Linked DNA regions of Homo sapiens: region 1 is linked to region 2. Evidence: promoter capture Hi-C in 16 types of primary human blood cells and fetal thymus (Javierre and others, 2016). All regions are on one chromosome and are shown on one strand. The core of a region is centred on a gene start or on the middle of the fragment in contact, and the rest is flanking DNA. Distances in the headings are between cores, read along the strand shown. Region 1 overlaps BTK (Bruton tyrosine kinase). Region 2 holds the start of TIMM8A (translocase of inner mitochondrial membrane 8A).

Evidence for each region. Contacts are between HindIII fragments. The CHiCAGO score rates a contact against its expected background, and 5 or more counts as called.
Region 1: a contact is called between a fragment that was not itself captured here and the fragment with the promoter of TIMM8A in region 2, in 2 of 17 cell types (total B cells and megakaryocytes). The highest score is 6.0, in total B cells.

The regions. Positions count from the first base shown.
Region 1 is chrX:101,380,584-101,384,540 of GRCh38, reverse strand. The region is part of intron 1 of BTK (Bruton tyrosine kinase); the gene reads left to right. Among named protein-coding and RNA genes, the nearest start is that of BTK, 3.6 kb to the left of the region's middle. The HindIII fragment of the contact is 1,631 bases long and covers 755-2,385 here.
Region 2 is chrX:101,347,302-101,350,965 of GRCh38, reverse strand. It overlaps TIMM8A (translocase of inner mitochondrial membrane 8A), which reads left to right and starts at 2,224. Exons shown (of 2, transcript NM_004085.4): 1 at 2,224-2,433. The coding sequence starts at 2,302. It overlaps BTK (Bruton tyrosine kinase), which reads left to right. Exons shown (of 19, transcript NM_000061.3): 19 at 1,010-1,516. The coding sequence ends at 1,081. RefSeq lists an enhancer at 2,253-2,302. The HindIII fragment of the contact is 777 bases long and covers 1,512-2,288 here.

The DNA.
Region 1 (3,957 bases), core at 321-2,820, 34 kb before region 2:
ACCGCAACCTCCGCCTCCCGGGTTCAAACAATTCTCCTGCCTCAGCCTCCCAAGTAGCTGGGATTACAGGCATGTGCCACCACGCCCAGCTAATTTTGTATTTCTAGTAGAGACGGGGTTTCTCCATGTTGGTCAGGCTGGTCTCGAACTCCCAACCTCAGGTGATCTGCCTGCTTGGGCCTCCCAAAGTGCTAGGATTACAGGCGTGAGCCACCGCACCCACCCTGGAATTCTTTGTAAACTCCTTATGGTGCGAACTAATGTAACTTTCCATCCAGTTATGGGGGATTGGTGCAATTTTAAATTATCACTATGATTTGCTATTTCCATTTGAGCAAATTTCCTATAGAGTTTCCTTTCAGTGGACTAGACCCATATCAGGAAGTGACTTAGGTATAAAGGGAAGATACAGCTTTCGAAAACCAAAGTTTGGGCGTTCTCCAAAGAGTTATCAGATACCCCCTTCTACACCCACAATGATCTGATTGCTGAGATCTGATTGCTAACTACTGAAAATAAGGAAGAACTAGAATTTTCAGTGACACAGTGCTCAGCAAGAAGCTAGAAAAGAGGCCTTGACATATTTGACTCCAAAGCTACTTGGTTATGCATGAAGCCATCTGGGGAGGGGAAGGAGGAGGGAGAACTCCTCTGAGGACCCTGAAACAATTGGGCCACGTGTGACTTTCAGTTTCTATGGAGATTCATGTGCAGTGGCTGAGGGCAATCTGAGAGCATTGGAAACCCAGAAGCTTTAATACCAGGCTCTTCTCTCCGCTCTTAGAAAGTTCTCACAAGATGTCTTTAGGATTATATTGGTTATTTGAATCTCAAGGAGAAGCTCCTCTCACTGCCCTACCTCCCTGAACTGAAAACAAACTGTAGTCTGTTAGCTCACCCTAGAAGAAGGAAATTCTAGAGTCAAGAGAAGTTAAGTTTTAGACAAGCTGGAAGTTGGAATATACTGGAGTTTAAGATCATTGACTCAATGAAAAAAAAAAAAGATTTGTCTGCAGTAAAACCAGAGTTTTAAAAATGATTAGAAATGGACCAGAAAAGAGATAAGGATAATGAGAAAGGGGGCTCTCTAAAACTATTTGGAACTGAAATTGGGACAATGTTTCTGGAAACTATTTTGGCAGTATGTATCAAAATGCAAAATGCACATACTTTTTTGACTCTGGAAATGATGCTTGTATAGAGATCCTAATAACATGGGAAAATAATTAGGAATAATGTTAAATAAGAACATTAGATCTTTTTTTGGAAAAAGGTACCTTGAACGGATGGATGGATGGATAGATACATACATACATGCATACATACATACATAGATGTTACGAAAAATAGGTAAATTAACTGAATGTGCAATATGATCTCAAATATTATAAGAAACACACACAGAAAAAAATGGAAGGAATATGCCGATATATTAATGCCTCTGGATGAGTTTATGAATGATTTTTTCTTTTTTATATCCCTGTACTTGACATATTTTCTACAATAAGCATGTTTTATTTTACTATATTTTGTTTTATTTTGAGATGGGGGTCTCCCTATGTTTCTCAGGCTGACCTTGAACTCTTGGGCTCAAGCAATCCTCCAATATCAGCCTCCTGAGTAGCTGGGACTACAGGTGCACCCCACTGCACCCAGCTGCGTGTGTTATTTTGATATCGATGGAAAAAATAAATAAAATGTTTAAGCCAAGGAAAACAAAAACTAGGTTGAAAAAGAAGGCCAAAAGGGCACACAAGTCCAGAGTGAAAGACAGACACCCCAGCAGTCACCCTCAGAGCAGAGGGAGAATATTGAAAGTATTACCACTGATCTGATCTGGCACTGACTATAAACTTGCAGATTGGCTCTCTGGCTCTCCTTCCATCATCAGTTGGCCAGAATATATTGTCGCTAATGCAAGACAAAAAGAGATGATGAATCACAGAGACCTAGAAGTTTCCAAAACCACAGAAGAAAAATGTAAAATGCTAAAAACATAAGGCCAGGCGCGGTGGCTCAAGCCTGTAATCCCAGCATTTTGGGAGGCCGAGGCAGGTGTCATGGTGTGCGGCTGTAGTCCAAGCTACTCAGGAGGCTGAGGCAAGAGAATTGCTTGAAACTGGGAGGTAGCGATTGCAGTGAGCCAAGATTGCGCTACTGTACCGAAGCCTGGATGACAGAGCGAGACTCTGTCTCAAAAATAAATAAATAAATAAATAAATAAATAAAACATGAACTGCTGTGGAAGAACCAGAGAGCCCTAAGGCCTCCTGTAAATGACTACAGCAGGAGAGTTTCCCTGGTCAGCATGCAGCTTTCGAAAATTGAGTTTGGCTTGATGCCTTCATCACAAATTTGGTCCCCTGTAGCCTTGACTATGAAGCTTATCATAAAATAATTGGGTTTCACTGGGGCCCGAACAAAAGCATCTTGGGAATTTAACAAGATTAAAGGTTGCTTTGTTGCTGTGGGTATGATTTTTTTTTCTTTTTTCTTTTTTTTTTTTTTTGAGACGGAGTCTGACTCTGTCACCCAGGCTGGAGTGCAGTGGCACGATCTCGGCTCACTGCAACCTCCGCCTCCTGGGTTCAAGCAATTCTCCTGCCTCAGCCTCCTGAGTAACTGGGATTACAGGTGCGCGCCACCACGCCAGGCTAATTTTTGTATTTTTAGTAGAGACAGGGTTTCTCCATGTTGGTCAGGCTGGCTGCTCTCAAACTCCTGACCTTGCCATCCAGCCGCCTCAGCCTCCCAAAGTGCTGGGATTACAGGCATGAGCTACCACACGTGGCCATATGTAAATTTTAAACATGTAAACCAATACTGTATATCTTTTATAGATATTTACATCTGTAATGATAATATGAAAACGTACCTAGGAATGATAAACACCAAATTCAAGATATTGGTAATCTCTAAGGAGGGAGAAGACTAAGATTTTGGAGTACATAAAGGGGTCTTGATTATATAGATAGTATTTCAGTTCTTAACACGTTCTCTTCTGGTCCCAAGGCCAAGGAATTCTCAATTGAAATCTCAGTTAGAACGTGAAGGATGCTTCTTGGGACTGGGAAGAGATTTTCCGTAGGCCAAATTTAACCTCCCACTAGAGATAGTTGATAATTCTACCACATTTCATAGTGAAGCATCAGGAAGACAGGACTGAAAAGGCAAGAAGGAATGATGCAAATTGCATAGTCCAAAAGATAAGCTGGACCTAGGTTTGCCAGTTTGTCTAAGTAACTGAGAATTCATTCTGAGATCAAAAAATCAAAATAATGTTCACAGCAGCATTGTTTATCACTGAAAGCAAACAACCTAAATGTCCATCAACAGGAGAATGAATAAATATATTGGAATGTATTCATCATATAGAATATTTTATGCATATAAAAATGAATTAAAACATATGAAGTAGAACTAGCCAGATAAATAAATCCTAACATATTATATTGAGGGGAAAAAAGCAAGTTGCTGGAGAATGTGTACCATATATATATATATAAATTTTCTTTTTTTTTTTTTTTTTTTTTCGCGACCGAGTTTCACTCTTGTTGCCCAGGCTGGAGTGCAATGGCAAGATCTCGGCTCACTGCAACCTCTGCCTCCCGGGTTCAAGGGATTCTCCCGCCTCAGCCTCCTGAGTAGCTGGGAGAGTAGCGTTGGCCCAGCTAGTTTTTGTATTTTTAGTAGAGACAGGGTTTCTCCATGTTGGTCAGGCTGGCTGCTCTCAAACTCCTGACCTTGTCATCCACCCGCCTCAGCCTCCCAAAGTGCTGGGATTACAGGCCTGAGTTACCGCACCTGGCCATATGTAAATTTTAAACATGTAAACCAATACTATATATCTTTTATAGATACTTACATCTGTAATAATAATATGAAAACATACCTAGGAATGATAAACACCAAACTCAAGATATTGGTAATCTCTATGGAGGGAGAAGACTAAGATTT
Region 2 (3,664 bases), core at 975-3,474:
CTATGCCTGAAGTGGAACCCAGAAATCTCTTTTTAAACTTCCCAGGAAATTCTGATACTCAGCTAAGTTTAAGAATCACTGAGTCAAGGAATCAAGAAATTGATGACCATTGGTTCTAACAGATTGAGAGCATTCTGGCATGAATGTTCCCTGAACCACTAAATACCAAATACCTCGGGGGCTTATGGGCCATGGCCATCAAAAAGAACCTTAGTCGTAGGCCGGGCGCGGTGGCTCACGCCTGTAATCCCAGCACTTTGGGAGGCTGAGGCGGGGGAATTACCTTAGGTCAGGAATTCGAGACTAGTCTGACCAACATGGTGAAACCCGGTCTATACTAAAAATACGAAAATTAGCTGGGCGTGATGGCGTGCACCTGTAATCCCAGCTACCTGGGAGGCTGAGGCAGGAAAATCGCTTGAACCTGGGAGGTGGCAGTGAGCTGAGCTCACACCACTGCACTCCAGCCTGGACAACAGGGTGAGACTCTGTCTCAAAAAGAAAAAAAAAAAAAAACCTTAGTCTTTTTGTTACCAGTGGTAAAAAAAAAAAAAAAAAAAAAAAGGTCCCAGGTACTCAGAATCCCTGCTCAGTAATACAGCCTGTGGTTTTGAAATATTAATCACTAAAAATTATCACATGGGATTTCTGTTCTGCCAACCACTTGAACTTGTTTGGTAGCCATTTTTCACTTGAGGATCCAAAATAAGAATGTGTTGTATACAGTTACATAATGAACTTGCCCTCAATTTTGATCAGTGTGATTGTCAGTTTAATTTGCAAATTGTTCTTATCACACTAATAACCTGAGTTACTAAAGATGAAAAGTGCACAAAGACTTTATGGAGAGCTGCTATTTCTTTTTTTTTTTTTTTTCCTTTTGTAATCGACAGGGCATGCTACTGGGCATAGAGCATATATTTAATAAACATTTGCTGCTTACTCATTGCATTTCCCTTGAATTCTGGATTCTAGCCACTCTAACACTTTACTTTTTCTTTGGTTTTAGAAAGCAGATGAGCGTCCCACTTTCAAAATTCTTCTGAGCAATATTCTAGATGTCATGGATGAAGAATCCTGAGCTCGCCAATAAGCTTCTTGGTTCTACTTCTCTTCTCCACAAGCCCCAATTTCACTTTCTCAGAGGAAATCCCAAGCTTAGGAGCCCTGGAGCCTTTGTGCTCCCACTCAATACAAAAAGGCCCCTCTCTACATCTGGGAATGCACCTCTTCTTTGATTCCCTGGGATAGTGGCTTCTGAGCAAAGGCCAAGAAATTATTGTGCCTGAAATTTCCCGAGAGAATTAAGACAGACTGAATTTGCGATGAAAATATTTTTTAGGAGGGAGGATGTAAATAGCCGCACAAAGGGGTCCAACAGCTCTTTGAGTAGGCATTTGGTAGAGCTTGGGGGTGTGTGTGTGGGGGTGGACCGAATTTGGCAAGAATGAAATGGTGTCATAAAGATGGGAGGGGAGGGTGTTTTGATAAAATAAAATTACTAGAAAGCTTGAAAGTCTTTGGTATCTCTATTAATCATGCAGCCTCCCTGAAGCGCCCTATCTCAGTATTCCAGAAAGCTGCTGTGTAGCATTAGTTTGGCATATTCCTACACTGAGAACTCGACAGGATCCTCCAGGTTTAAGCCCTCTTGTTAACTCCTGCCTCTGAATCAAAGATGCATTAAGCAAAAACAGTGCCTGTCACAGCACGCATGCAATGTTATTTGAATGAATCTGAAAGTTGGGCACAAACTGCCATAGCCTCATTTCCCTACGTCGGGAGAGGAAAACTCCATCAAAAAACGAAAGCCAGGGGCCCAGGATAGCCAACTAATCGACCCAGTCAACTAACTGACCCAGTGCACAACTCTGGTAGCTCAGAAAACGCGGGCTAATTTGGAAGTGGACAGGGGCGGAGCTGTGGGGCCAGCACGGAATGGATCACGTGGTCTGAAGTAACTTCCTTTTCTCCTTTCTTTTCTTTTTGGAGTAACATCTCAACGGCACCTCGGCTCTGGGCTGTAAGCCCTGCGATCTCAAGGCGCAAGGCTGGGCGCAACGGCAGGGTTGCGGGGTTACGGGATTGCGGGGTCCGGGGAGTGGAACCCGCCGACTCCGGGAACGAAGCACCGGCGCCAAGGTGTGGGAGGCGGCGGGGTGGAGTTGGACGCCTGCCTCGCGCCGACGCAGTGCACTCACGGGGGCGGTCCCAGAGGCAGCTAGCTGTGGTTCCGGTTCCGTCGCGGAGACACGTGAAGGTCGGTGCGGAGTTCGTCTCTGCAAGCTTGGTCGCCCTGGGATGGATTCCTCCTCCTCTTCCTCCGCGGCGGGTTTGGGTGCAGTGGACCCGCAGTTGCAGCATTTCATCGAGGTAGAGACTCAAAAGCAGCGCTTCCAGCAGCTGGTGCACCAGATGACTGAACTTTGTTGGGTGAGGAGCCTGGGGCTGGGACCTGAACACTGTACCTACTTTCCCTCTGTCCTTGTACCGCGGGACTCGCGACAACGTCGGGGATTCGGGGTGGGGGGCGGGCACCTGGCAGCAACCCTTGATTTTCTCAGGTTCCTGTGGCCTAGCCGGATGGGAGAAGGGTGACTCCGCTTCTCTGGGGACTGTCATTCCGGACCTCGGCTTTGTTGGTGTAGAGGACTGGGTATCAAAGAAGACTTATGCCACTGGACACCCAGCACTTTCAGGCACCCGAGGTTGAAGCTGCCTAGTGCTGGTCACCAAGACTGATCGGAGCCCCCAGTACTGGGATTTTATTTTTGGCAGCCCGAGTCCCAGAGAGTCAGTGAATCAGTGAATCTGCTATTCCTGGACTCCTCGGGATTTACCTTCATTACCCAGTTCTAACCCTCTCCGCTGAAAAATGAGTGGCTCCAGCCCAGTAACTATAAAAGTGGTGTAATCTCTTCCAACGTACATACTTATTTGCTTTCTTGTTGGATTGTTGTGTAATACCAAGCCGTTTTGGGTCTGAAGGTTGAGGAATTGAGCCTGCCCTGTGAGGGGACTTTGGCAAAAGGGTGGAAGGTATTTGCAGCTTGCCAACAACGTGTTCTGCTTGCCAAGGACAGATCTCCCTTAATGTACACAATTCACAGAATTCAGAGGCCAAGGATAATTTTCCTTGGAATTAGAGGGTCTGAGGCTTGTGTACATGGCAGAGAATAATGAACGAAATTTTTGAACCACTTAACTTGAACTATATACAGTCATTGGTTTCCATAGGCCCTTTCCCATAAACTTACAGTATTGCTGGACTATGACACCTACCAGATGCTTACTTAACTCTGGTCTGCCTTGGACCAGAGTGCTTTGATTCTTTTTTAAAAATATCTGTGATTCGTTACTTTGGGGCTAGGAGGGCGTGTGGTTAAGTACTATTGCAAGAATCTGTAAGCTGCCCGGCGCGGTGGCTCATGCCTGTAATCCCAGCACTTTGGGAGGCGGGTGGATCACTTGAGGTCAGGAGTTCGAGACCAGTCTGGGCAACACGGCGAAGCCCTGTCTCTACTAAAAATAGAAAAAATTAGCTGGGCGGGGTGGCACCCGCCTGTAATCCCAGCTACTCAGGAAGCTGAGGCACGAGAATGGCTTGAACCTGGCGGAGGTTACAGTGAGATCATGCCACTGCACTCCAGCCTGGGTGACAGAG